2 separate regions of the Homo sapiens genome follow, and region 1 is linked to region 2. Evidence: promoter capture Hi-C in 16 types of primary human blood cells and fetal thymus (Javierre and others, 2016). All regions are on one chromosome and are shown on one strand. The core of a region is centred on a gene start or on the middle of the fragment in contact, and the rest is flanking DNA. Distances in the headings are between cores, read along the strand shown.

What was found. Contacts are between HindIII fragments. The CHiCAGO score rates a contact against its expected background, and 5 or more counts as called.
Region 1: a contact is called between a fragment that was not itself captured here and the fragment with the promoter of ZNF350 in region 2, in 1 of 17 cell types (non-activated CD4 T cells). The highest score is 5.0, in non-activated CD4 T cells.

What each region holds. Positions count from the first base shown.
Region 1 is chr19:52,945,706-52,952,105 of GRCh38, forward strand. All of the region lies in intron 3 of ZNF816-ZNF321P (ZNF816-ZNF321P readthrough), which reads right to left. It overlaps ZNF816 (zinc finger protein 816), which reads right to left. Exons shown (of 4, transcript NM_001202457.3): 4 at 3,680-5,879. The coding sequence ends at 4,114. LOC124904761 (a long non-coding RNA gene) reads left to right here and starts at 1,023. Exons shown (of 2, transcript XR_007067329.1): 1 at 1,023-1,099; 2 at 1,740-2,351. The HindIII fragment of the contact is 1,673 bases long and covers 3,919-5,591 here.
Region 2 is chr19:51,983,290-51,989,661 of GRCh38, forward strand. ZNF350 (zinc finger protein 350) reads right to left here and starts at 3,551. Exons shown (of 5, transcript NM_021632.4): 1 at 3,481-3,551. RefSeq lists enhancers at 3,016-3,891, 3,478-3,717. The HindIII fragment of the contact is 6,623 bases long and covers 3,016-6,372 here.

The DNA of each region.
Region 1 (6,400 bases), core at 3,505-6,004, 960 kb after region 2:
GCTGGAGCGTGGTGGAGAGATTAGAACTCACTGCAGCCGTGAAATCCCTGGCTCAAGTGATCCTTTCACCTCAGCGCCCCGAGCAGCTGGGACCACAGGCGCACACCACCACACCTGACTCGTTTTTTGATTTTTAGTACAGACAATGTCTCACTACGTTGCCCCGGCTGATCTCGAACTCCTGGGCTCAAGCAATCTTCCTGCCTCAGCCTCTCAAAGTGCTGGGATTACAGGTGTGAGCCACCGCTCCGGGCCCTGACTTTATTTCCATGAAATATGAAACCCCTATCCTCCACCTCCTGTGTGTAATAGGCAGTTTTGCTTGTCACTTTTCAGTTTCCATTATCCACTCAAACAACCCAGGACCTTGCTTAGTTTAATAAGCCGTTCTGTCAGTTCCCGCTGCAACCAGCGCCCCACTCCACCCCTTTACCGAGGTCCCTGCCCCTCTCCCCCGCCCTGCCCCAGACTGAGGGGAGCTCGCCCCGCCTGCAGGACGCACGACTCTACCTGCTCCAAAAAGGCGCTTTGCATTAAAACCATTTTCAATTTAAGAAGAGAAACTATTCAGCGTTCAGCACACGTGGTCTACTACAATAAGTTGTTTTACCTTCGATTGTTTGAAATGTTAACTTAAAACGGGCAGGAAGCATCCATGTGATATTAGGGGTAACATCACGGCACAAGAGAATGAATCCACCAATCAGAACTCGGAGGATCCAGTCCTAGAGGGAGAGGATGACAGCAGGAGACATCCACGGCCCAGCTGAGAAAGCCCGAACCCGCCCCCTCCAGGCCTGGCCCTTTAGAACAACCCACCTTCCAGAGCCCGCCCCCTAGACGGCGTCAACCCTCTGGCCTGGCTCCTGCCCGCAGTCCGGCCCGGCCCCCAGGCAGCCTTCTCCCTTTTGCCCCGCCCCAGGCCCCGCCCCCACAGCGGCCTCCACTCTCTCGCCCCGACCCAGCACCTGTTCAGGCCCCGCCCGCTCAGCAACCTTTTCTCTCCTGCCCTGTCCCCGCTTAGTGTCCAGAACCCTCCCAGACAGGGTCCAGGACCAGCCCATGGTTGTTCTGCACGGAGAGCCCGGGGCTGACGCAGGTGAGTGATTTTTTGTCTTTCTGCTTCAAACCTGCCTTTCTCAGCACCCCAGCCCCCAGTCCAGCCATACCAGGAATTTGGGTGCGTCGGGATGTTGAAATCCCCACGCGAGTTTGTGCAGTTGTCAGGGAGTCCCAGCTTCGCCATGGGAAGCTCGCAGACCCGGTGGCTCTGCAGCGTTTGTATCGTTTTAGCCCATGTCCTCCCCCTTTCAGGTGGCAAAATCTCGGCTCACCACAATCTCTGACTACTAGGTTCAAGCGATTCTCCTGCCTCAGGCTCCTGAGTAACTGGAATTACAGGCGCCCGCCACTACACCCAGCTAATTTTGTATTTTTAGTAGAGACTAAAAATGTTGGTTACACCATGTTGGTTATGCTGGTCTGGAAAACCCAATCTCAGGTGATCTGCCCACCTCGGCCTCCCAACATGCTGGGATTACAGGCGTGAGCCACTGCGCCCAGCCTCTAGGTAGCTTTTTTTAGTCTTTGTAGCTATGTTGTTTAGGAATAAAATGGGAGGCAGGTTTTTCTGTCCCAATTCCCAGCTTGACCTTTCTCTTTGGCTTGGTAATTTTTATTATCCTTTCACAAGCTCAGACAGACATAATGCTTTGACACAATGATATTGCTTTATATAGATTTTCCACATCAATAAAGTCCAAGGGTCTGTCATGAACTGGGTTAGAAGAGACGAGAAGATTCCCAGGAGACTCAGTCTCAAGCAATCCTCCCACCTCAGCCTCCCAAGGTGCGTGGACCACAGGTGTGATCCACTGAACACAGTGGAGTCTCCAGCTCAAAAAAACAAAACAAAGGTTAAGGTACTCTATCGAATTACGTCATTTGACTTATTTTATTTTTATTTTTTATTTATTTATTTTTTTTCTGAGATGGAGTCTTGCTCTGTCAACCCAGGCTGGAGTGCAGTGGCGCGATCTCAGCTCACTGCAACTTCCGCCTGCCGGGTTCATGCCATTCTCCTGCCTCAGCCTCCCGAGTAGCTGGGACTACAGGCGCCCGCCACCACGCCCGGCTAATTTTTTGTATTTTTAGTAGAGACGGGGTTTCACCATGTTAGCCAGGATGGTCTCGATCTCCTGACCTTGTGATCCACCTGCCTTGGACTCCCAAAGTGCTAGGATTACAGGCGTGAGCCACCACGCCCAATTGACGTTTTTTTTTTTTAAATAAAATGTTTCACATATTTATTACCGAACCTAGCCAACCAATGTGTTCGTAACAGAGTCAGAGATAAAAAATATATTCCCAATAAAACATGTCCAACTCTCCAGATAGGGGTGACATTTTCAGCTTGATATGGTTGCGTGATTGTGACCTTATTATCAGTTTTCATGCGAATCCACTGGGGAATGGAACAATTCTGCTTTTGTTTCTTGGCCAGGACTCTCTTAATCCTGAAAGTCTTGTGAGAAGACATGGCAAGAAGCCAAGTCAAGCACACACTACGATGACGGAGAGAGGAGAAGGGTCTTGATTTTTTCTTTTTTTTAGACTAAGTTTCTTTCTTTTTGCCCAGGCTGCAGTGCAATGGTGCGATCTTGGCTCGCTGCAACCTCCGCCTCCCGGGTTCAAGTGATTCTCTTGCCTCAGCCTGGCGAGTAGCTAGGTTTGGCCAAAATATGAACTAGAAAGGCAGGAACCTGGCCAAAGGTGGGGAGCTTGAATGTTATTACCTTATTCCTGCTTGACCTTTACTGCCAACGCCAACACAAATGGTCAGAGGTCCCTTATATGAAAATCTTCATGATCTTGTGGGAAAACCCTGATTTTTGTAAAGGCTGCAAAACAGGCTCAAAAATAAATAAATAAATAAAATTACATTTAAAAGAGCCAGTTGCAGTGGCTCACGCCTGTAATCCCACCACTTTGGGAGGCCGAGGTGGGTGGATCAGCTGAGGTTAGGATTTCAAGACCAGACTGACCAACATGGAGAAACACCCTCTCTACTAAAAATACAAAAATTAGCCAGGCTTGGTGGCGGGCACCTGTAATCCCAGCTACTTAGGAGGCTGAGGCAGAAGAATTGCTTGAGCCCAGGAGGCAAAGGTTGCAATGAGCCCAGACCATACCACTGCACTCCAGCCTGGGTGACAAGAGCAAGACTCCATCTCAAAACAAAAAAATAAAATAAAATAAAAAATAAATAAAAATACAAAAATTAGCATGGTGTGGTGGCATGCATCACTAATCCCAGCTACTCAGGAGGCTGAGGCAGGAGAATTGCTTGAATGCAGGAGGTGAAGGTTCCAGTGAGCTGAGATCATGTCATTGCACTATAGCCTGAGTGACAAGAGCAAGACTCCATCTCAAAAAATAAAAATAAAAAACAGGCTGGGTAAAGTGGCTCAAGTCTGTTGGCCAGGCTGGTCTCAAACTGCTGACCTCAAGTGATCTACCTGCCTTGGCCTCCCAAAGTACTGGGAAAACAGGCATGAGCCACTGCACCTGACCCATTCTTCTTAACATTAACACTTTTTATGTCAATTAATGCGTGAACTCAATGTTAAGTCAACTCAAACTCAAGTCAATGTTGAATCAACTCTAATGTCAATTAAAGTTTTATGATTTTTTATATTCATTTTATTTGGAACAATTATCTCAAAAATGAATTTTCTGATGTTCTGCATGGAATGACCACAGAGTGAAGACCTTGCCACCCTTACATTTGTAAGGCATCTGTCCAGTATGAATTCTCTGATGTCTAATGAGGTGTGAACATGAAGTAAAGGCTTTGCCACAATCATCACACTTGTGAGGTTTCTCTCCTGTATGAATTCTATGTTTTGCATAGGATGAAGCTTGACTGAAGACCTTGTCACAGTCATGATATTTGTAAGGTTTCTCTCCAGTATGAGTTCACTGATGAACTACAAGTTATGAATGACGTCTGAAAAATTTGCCACATTTATTACACTTGTAGATCTCTCTTCAATATGGATTCTGTAATGATTTGCAATGGTTGTAGCATTACTGAAGACTTTGTGACAATCATTACATTTGTAAAGTTTCCCTACACCCATGGATTGCTTGATGGTGAATAAGTGTTGACTGTCCAGTAAAGGCTTTGCCACACTCATTACACTTGTAAGGTTTCTCTGCAGTATGAACTCTCTGATGTTTTGCAAGGCTTGCTTTTTGATTAAAAACCTTGCCACATTCATTACACTTGTAAGGTTTCTCTCCAGTATGAACTCTCTGATGTTGTGCAAGGATTCCTTTTTGATTAAAAACCTTCGCACATTTATTACACTTGTAAGGTTTCTCTCCAGTATGAACTCTCGTATGGTTTGCAAGGCATGAATCACTCCGGAAAGCCTTGTCACAAACCTTACATTTGTATGGTTTTTCCCCAGTATGAATTCTCCTATGTCTTTCAAGGTGTGATCTGCGACTGAAAACTTTGTCACATTCTTCACATTTGTAAGGTTTCTCTCCAGCATGAAGTCTATGATGACGTGCAAGGTTTTCTCTTCGACTAAAAACCTTGCCACATTCATTACATGTGTAAGGTTTCTCTCCAGTGTGAAGTGTATGATGGTATTGAAGGGATGACTTCCGACTGAAACTCCTGCCACATTTATTACACTTGTATGGTTTCTCTCCAGTATGAACTCTCTGATGTTCTGCAAGGTATGAATCACTCCGGAAAACCTTGTCACAAACCTTACATTTGTATGATCCCTCTCCAGTATGAATCTTCCTATGTCTTTCAAGGTGTGATCTGCGAATGTAAACATTGTCACATTCTTCACATTTGTAAGGTTTCTCTCCAGTGTGAAGTATATGATGGCATTGAAGGGATGATTTCTGACTGAAGGTCTTGCCACACTCATTACACTTGTAAGGTTTCTCTCCAGTATGAATTGCCTTATGAATTACAAGGGCTGAATTTCGACCAAAAGTCTTGCCACACTCATTACACTTGTAAGGTTTCTCTCCAGTATGAAGTCTACGATGGCATCTAAGGGATGACTTCTCACTGAAGGTCTTGCCACACTCATTACACTTGTAAGGTTTCTCTCCAGTATGAAGTCTACGATGGCATACAAGGGATGACATCTGAGTGAAGGTCTTCCCACACTCATTACACTTGTAAGTTTTCTCACCAGTGTGACATCTATGATGATATACAATGTATTGCTTCTGATTAAAGATCTTGCCACATACATCACATTTATATTCTCTCTCTCTTGAATGGGTTATGTGGTGTCTCCTTAAGAGTGAGCTATAATTAAAGGCTTTGCCACACTCATTACTTTGGCAAGGTTTTTCTCTCATGCATATTTCCTGTATTTGTGTGAATGAAGAATGGAGGAAATTCTTCCCATACTTATTAGAAATATGAGTTTTGAGCCTACAAGAAATTCTTTGGGATTCTGAAGCTGAGGAAGCACCGATAGACTTGTCCAATTGGTTACTAATTTTCCCTTTAGTCTGAAACATGTGGAGTTCAGGCAGATGCGAATGAAAGCTTAATCCAAGCTGATCTTTAATAGGCTTGTTTCCAGCATGCCTGTGATCACTTCGGTCTGTACTACCAGTCAACTTTTTGATTTTTGTCATGGGTGCTTCATGGCCATTTCTTTCAACTTCTTGCCACTGAAACTCAAAGTGATGAATATCTTTCTTCATTTCTGGGAAGCAAAAATCTCCAATGTGATGACTTTTATGTCTTTGCAACGTCCCTGTGTGGATCACTTCTCCTGTAATACTGTGCCTGGTTGATGAGAACTCCATCATGGATTTTAAAGAGCTATCTAAAAAATATAAAGACCAATAGGTTTCCAATTAAGTACAGATGGTAAATAATAGTTGATATTCAGATGTGTAAAAATTACACAAAAAGCAATACTTATTTTAAACTTCCCAAATGTGATCTTCATAGTTTAAGAACACACTGTCTCTACTGAACATACAAAAATTAGCCAGTCATGGTGGTGGGTGCCTGTAATCCCAGCTACTCAGGAGGCTGAGGCAGCAGAATTGCTTGAAGCCAGGAGGCAGAGGTTGCAGCATGCGGAGATCACCACATTGCACTCCAGCCTGGGCAACAAGAGCAAAATTCTGTGTAGAAAAAAAAAAGAGTTCAGTCAAGAGCCTCATATATATGAGGCAGTGAGCCTGAATGATGTCCTCCCTAAGAGGAATTTCTACAGCAGTGACTACTGCTTAGAGAAGATGACCATTCGTTTATGTGATGAACACTGTCACAGTGCTAGTGAGAGATGCTTCTGTGATGGTTCTCAAAAACCAGAATGAAAGGCCAAGCATGGTGGCT
Region 2 (6,372 bases), core at 2,301-4,800:
TGTCCAAGGTTTCCTCCCACTGATACAGCCTGAGATATGGTCTCGTGGGAAGGGAAAAACCTGACCATCTCCCAGCCCAACACTCGTAAAGGGTCTGTGCTGAGGAGGATTAGTGAAAGAGGAAGACCTCTTTACAGTTAAAATAAGAGAAAGCCATCTGTCTCCTGCTCCTCCCTGGGAATGGAATGTCCCGGTATAAAACCCAATCATACATTCTATTTACTAAGATAGGAGAAAACCACCTTATAACTAAAGGTGAGACATACTGGCGGCAATACTACTCTTTACTACACTAAGATGTCTGTGTAAAGTCAAACATAAATCTGGCCTACGTACACATCAAGGCACAGGACCTTTCCTTAAACTTATTTATAACACAGAGTCCTTTACTCACATGTTTTCCTACTGACCCTCTCCCCACCATTACCCTATAGTCCTGCCACACCCCCCTCACCAAGATGGTAAAAATAGTAATCAATAAATACTAACAAAACTCAGAGACCAGTGCCGGTGTGGGTCCCCCATATGCTGAACACCAGTCCCCTGGGCCCACTTTTCTTCCTCTGTACTTTCTCTCTGTGTCTGATTTCTTTTCTCAGTCTCTCATTTCCACCTTGCAAAAAATACCCACAGGTGTGGAGGGGCAGGCCCCCTTCAGGCAGGTGGACCACTTGAGCCAGAGTTGGAGACCAGCCTGGCCATCATGGTGAAACCCCATCTCTACTAAAAATACAAAAATTAGCCAGGCAAGGTGGCACCTGCTGGTAATTCCAGCTACTCGGGAGGCCGTGGCACAAGAATCACTTGAGCCCAGAAGGCAGAGGTTGCAGTTGAGCCAAGCACGCCACTACACTCCAGCCTGGGCGACGAGAGCAAGACTCTATCTAAAAAAATTAAAAAAAAAAAAAAAAATCAATAAATGGTACTGGGGATGGGGACAGAAAGTTAAAACCCCCCTCACAACATACACAAAAACCATTTTAGAATCAACTGTCAATTTCAATGGTAGAAACATATCAATAAAGCTTTAAAGAACATTAATATAGGAGAATCTCTCAATGTTATTAGGGTATGGCCAGATATTTTAAAGAGGCCACATAAAGCACCCTATAAAGCAAACTATATCCTGCTAGGGGAACTGTAAGTGGTACAACCACTTTAGAAAACAGTTTGACATCTATTTAGACGGAGTTTATACACACTCTATGAAGCAGCAATTTTCCTCCGAGGTGCACATCTAGATATACATCTCTGCCTCCCCCATATGAGAGCACATATGAACCAAAAGACATTTACACAAATTTTCACACATGCATTATTCTTAATAATACAAGCTTTAGGTAATACAAATGTAATTAATAATAGAAAAAACTGCTATATTTTACATAATGGAATGTGATAGAAAACCTATTATACCTTTGGTCCAGCCTGCAAGAATGCTTTTTACATTTTTGAAAGACTGTAAAACAAAAAGCAAATTAGCATATGCAAGAGACCATATGTAGCCTGCAAGCCCTAAAATATTTACTGTAAATTCGCCTGATCCTTGTCATTGAGCAAAGAAAATATACTCAGATGCAACAGGAAAGACCCTCACCAATAATGAGCAAAAGAAGGCTGACACAAAAAAAGAGTGATGTACAATTCCACTGATATACAGAGTTTAAAATAGGCAAAACTGTATTAACTACAATGATAAATAATGATTAATTATATAAAGAAAAGCCTAAAATACTTTTCGGTGTGAGAATGGAAAAAGACTCACAGAACACCACTGGTGTGCTGACCATATTCTATTTCTTGACCTGGGCAATGACTGCTTATACATATATTGCCTCCATGATAATTAAATTGTACATTTAAAATATATAAATGTAGAAAAATTAACAAAGTAAAGGAAGAGATCAACCATACCAAACAGTTTACCTCCAGGAAAGGTGTTAACTCCAGACAACACAACGGGTGAATTTTACAGGTGGGTAATAAAACAAGAACGTCCACTAACACCCTATTTTCCTACTTTATACTGGAAAGTTGAGCCAATGCATTAAGATAAGAATGAATTATAAGCATTACAAAGTAAGACAGAAAATTAATGTTATTTTCAGGCGATATCATCACGAACATGGAAAAAGAGATTCAAGAAATTACATATTTAAAAAAGAAAATGCTCCCTCAGAAACTCCCAGGCAGATTTTCACATACATAGTTGGCTAGAATTGCACCATACGCCTAAGCTCATTTCCATGTCAAACCTATCACTAGCAATGGCAATTGGAACCAGCAAGATTGGCTAAGACCAACAAGGCCTTACTAAGAAACTGGGATTTGGGTCGCCTTGCCACAGGGATGAATACTTCACGAAATGGAGATTCTGTTAAGAAAGTGTGAATATAAGGCGGGCAAGCAACACTCACTATATATTAAGAAGTGAAGGCCGGGCGCGGTGGCTCACGCCTGTAATCCCAGCACTTTGGAAAGCCAAGGTGGGCGGATCACCTGAGGTCAGGAGTTCGAGACCAACCTGCCCAACGTGGTAAAACCCTGTCTCTACTAAAAATACAAAAACTAGCCGGGCGTGGTGGCGTGGGCCTGTAGTCCCAGCTACTCAGGAGGCTGAGGCAGGAGAATCGCTTGAACCCGGGAGGCGGAGATTGCAGTGAGCCGAGATCGCGCCATTGCACTCCAGTCTGGGAGACAAAAGTGAAACTCCGTCTCAAAAAATAAAAAAAATAAATAAAAAATAAAAGAAGTGAATGCAGAGGTTGGCAACATTTTCGATTTTGCCGGCCACGAGGTCTCTGTCACAACAACTCAACCGCTGCCTTTGCAGCCATAGACAATATATAATCGGAGGGTATGACTGAACTTGACCCCCCGATCTGTAAATAGCCACCCCAAGGATCAGAAGAGTAGATATATGGTTTCGAACTAATGCTGGGGGCTGTGTCGCCTTTTGCCCCAGTAACCGAGGTTCGAACCTCAACCCAGGACCCAGGGCTCCAAAGTCTCGAAAGCTTCAGCCCTCACAAGCCTTTGTACCACAGACACTGGCCCCATGCCTCTTACTCATCCGAACCACGGACCAGACACTCTACAGCGATGGACATCCTCCCAGACTCCAACATCACTGAGTTCCAAATTAAATCCTGAACCCGAAGCAGACGCCGCATCGATCCTAATCGCCACCTCCATCCTTTACAAGCAGAGTGATCCATACCTTGACAGTTAGGACACGGCCGTTGATCACTACAGACCCTTAGTCACTGTACTCACACCAAAGGCACGCGGACCACAGACAGGGGGATCACAGACTCCCACCAGGTACCTCCCAAATGCCTATACCCCGGCGCTCCCCAGTCTTCCTGCCAAAAACTATGTGGTCCAGGGTACACCACGTCCTCAGATCTCCCAAACCTTCCACTGAGACAAAACCTGAACTAGGACAAAAAACTTTCAGGGACAAAACCACACACTGACCTCTATTTTCTCCAGATACACAAGAAGGGCCTCAACGTTACACTTCCGTAAACTGCTCCTACTTCTGGAGTCCTCGCACGGGTTTATGGTCCACCTACGGCGGCCGAGGAGAACCTAAAATGTTTAAAAGAGCAAGGACAAGCGCATTTACGGCATTTCCTACTCTGTAAAATGGCCGCGCCCATAGCCGTGGCTCCTGACGGCAGCCATGTTTGAAAATTGGACGCACAGAAGGCAGTGGCAGGTTTTTGAGCCAGGAGCCAGGGAAGAAGAGAAGTCACTGAAATCGCCTCGTTTCCTGGCACTTAAAGTCTTGCGAAAGGGGGCAGATTTTCAGAGACTCAGGCTTTATCAGGCAAATATGGGGCAAGCTAAATTGCCTTTAGCGCTTTTCCATCCACTTTGTTAAATTTAAAAAAAAAGGTTTTGAAAAAGACAAGTAACAGTGCAGCCAGGTGTAGGTATCCCAGAGAATGAATTGGAAATGGAAAAGGTAACAGATCAGGTAGAAAGGGAAAAGGCAACACATCAGGTAGGCAGACACCCACGGGAAAGCGTCTGGCGAAAATTAGCTTGCAGGAAGCGGTTTTTAAGAACAGAAAAATAGCAGGTATTCGGGGGGGCGGGTGGTGAAGAAAGAAAAAAATTATAATTTTTTTTGAGACGGAGTCTTGCTCTGTCGCCAGGCTGGAGTGCAGTGGCGAGATCTGGGCTCACTGCAACCTCTGCCTCCCTGGTTCAAGCGATTCTCCTGCCTTAGCCTCCCAAGTAGCTGGGACTACAGGCACGCGCCACCACGCCCAGCTAATTTTTGTATTTTTAGTAGAGACTGGCTTTCACCATGTTGGCCAAGATGATCTCGACCTCCTGACCTCGTGATCTGCCTGTCTCGGCCTCCCAAAGTGCTGGGATTACAGGTGTGAGCCACCGCGCCTGGCCTCGAAAAAATGATTATTATTTACAAAAAAGAAGAAGAAGAAGGAGGAAGAGGAGGAGGAGAAGGAAGAGAAAAGAGGAGAAAAGAAGAGAAAAGAGGAGAGGAGAGGAGAGAAAAGAGATTTTGAGAATGAATTACGATGTGAGCCTGGCCACGACAGACTAAAGGAATTGGGCCTCCTAGAAAGGCCACTTTTAGTAAAGGTGCCAATGGGAAGAGCAGAGCCAGAATTGAGAGTATAAAAATATTGTTAAGAGTTTTTGACAAAAGTGCCAAGACAATTCAATAAGAATAGTCTTTTCAACAAGCGGCACTGGGATAATTGGATATCCACATCCAGAAAAATGAGTTAGGACCCTCAAACCATACACAAAAGTTAACTCAAAATAGATCATAGATCTAAGTTTAAGAGAAAGTATAAAACTTAGAGAAGGAAAAGGGAGATAATCCTCATGGACGTGAGTTAATTCTGAGAGGAGAGTAAAGGATGACCCACAAAACAAAATAAAATTAATAAAGTGGACTTGATTTTTTTTTAAGTTTGTGCTTCTAAACACAACATTTAAGAAAGTGAAGTGGGGCACGGTGGCTCACACCTGTAATCCCAGCACTTTGGGAGGCCGAGGCAGGCGGATCATCTGAGGTCAGGAGTTCCAGACCAGCCTGGCCAACAAAGCGAAACCAGTCTCTACTAAAAATACAAAAATTACCCGGACGCGGTGGCGCGCGCCTGTAATCCCAGCTACTCGGGAGCCTGAGGCAGGAGAATCGCTTGAATCCGGGAGGCGGAGGTTGCAGTAAGCCGAGATCGCGCCACTGCACCCCAGCCTGGGCGACAGAGCAAGACTCCTCGGTAAAGACACCACTTCGTCACCCTGAATTACTCTGATTTTTATGGGTACAATGAGAATAGTGGACCTAGGAAGAAAAAGTTTTTAAATAGAAACCTTCAGGACAGATTTGGACTTGAAAGACTGACAGGAAGTGTTTCCAGCATCCAGTTAGTCTCAAAGCAACCACTAACCTTCAACTGCACACCTGAAAGCCTCCAGCCTCATTACATTCTCAAACACAGACAAGCCCCGTCTTCCTCTAAATAAAATTGCCTTCAAATTCAATTTAAAACTTACCACAGAGGCACTCCTTTGACACTCCTCCCCCTAGACCTTTCATTCACGCCACTCCTCTTCCTAGCTCGGGCTTCTCTGTATCTGAGCCCCATATTAAATTGCAAATCTGAGCAAAAAACAGCATTCACTGAGACACACTTTCCCCAGTTTTCTATTACTGAGACTCATGAAAAGTGAACATATAGACCTCAAGCTCTGTCCGTGGGACCCTCAGTCATTAAACTCTTAAAACTAAGCCTTAACCTTTGACATCCCAAGGGTCTCTTTCTCACACCCATATTCCTCGGTGACTAAACTGAAATAAAACCCCTGAACACGGACATTCACATGCGTTTCCACTTCATGGTCGTCCCCACAAGCTCCCCATCCGGATTCACACGCAGCATCAGGCTTTCAAGGCTACAGTAGCAGCTGCCAAAGGCTGAACACGTATCAGAACCTACTTCCGATTCTGGAATTCTGGTGCTGCAACCCCATCCTTCGCCATCTCTAAGAACACCGAGAGACTGGGAGGCGGGCTTCCGGAGAGGGATATGGGACATTTCCCAAAGTCCAGGTTCTGGCTTTGAACATTTTATATGAGGTAACATAGCTGTTTTACCTCATAGAGCATATTATGTCATTTCTGATGGGAGTGACCGTAGATTATTAGTGGAGTGATAGACACGCACATCAACAGAATAGAGTCAAGAAATGGACACAAGAACAGGCAACTGATTTTTACAAATGTTCAAAATCAATTTAATGGAAAGAGGACAGTGTTTTCAATACTGTTGAATCAACTGGGCAACCATAGGCTGAACTTTAAATTAACCCTTACCCTAT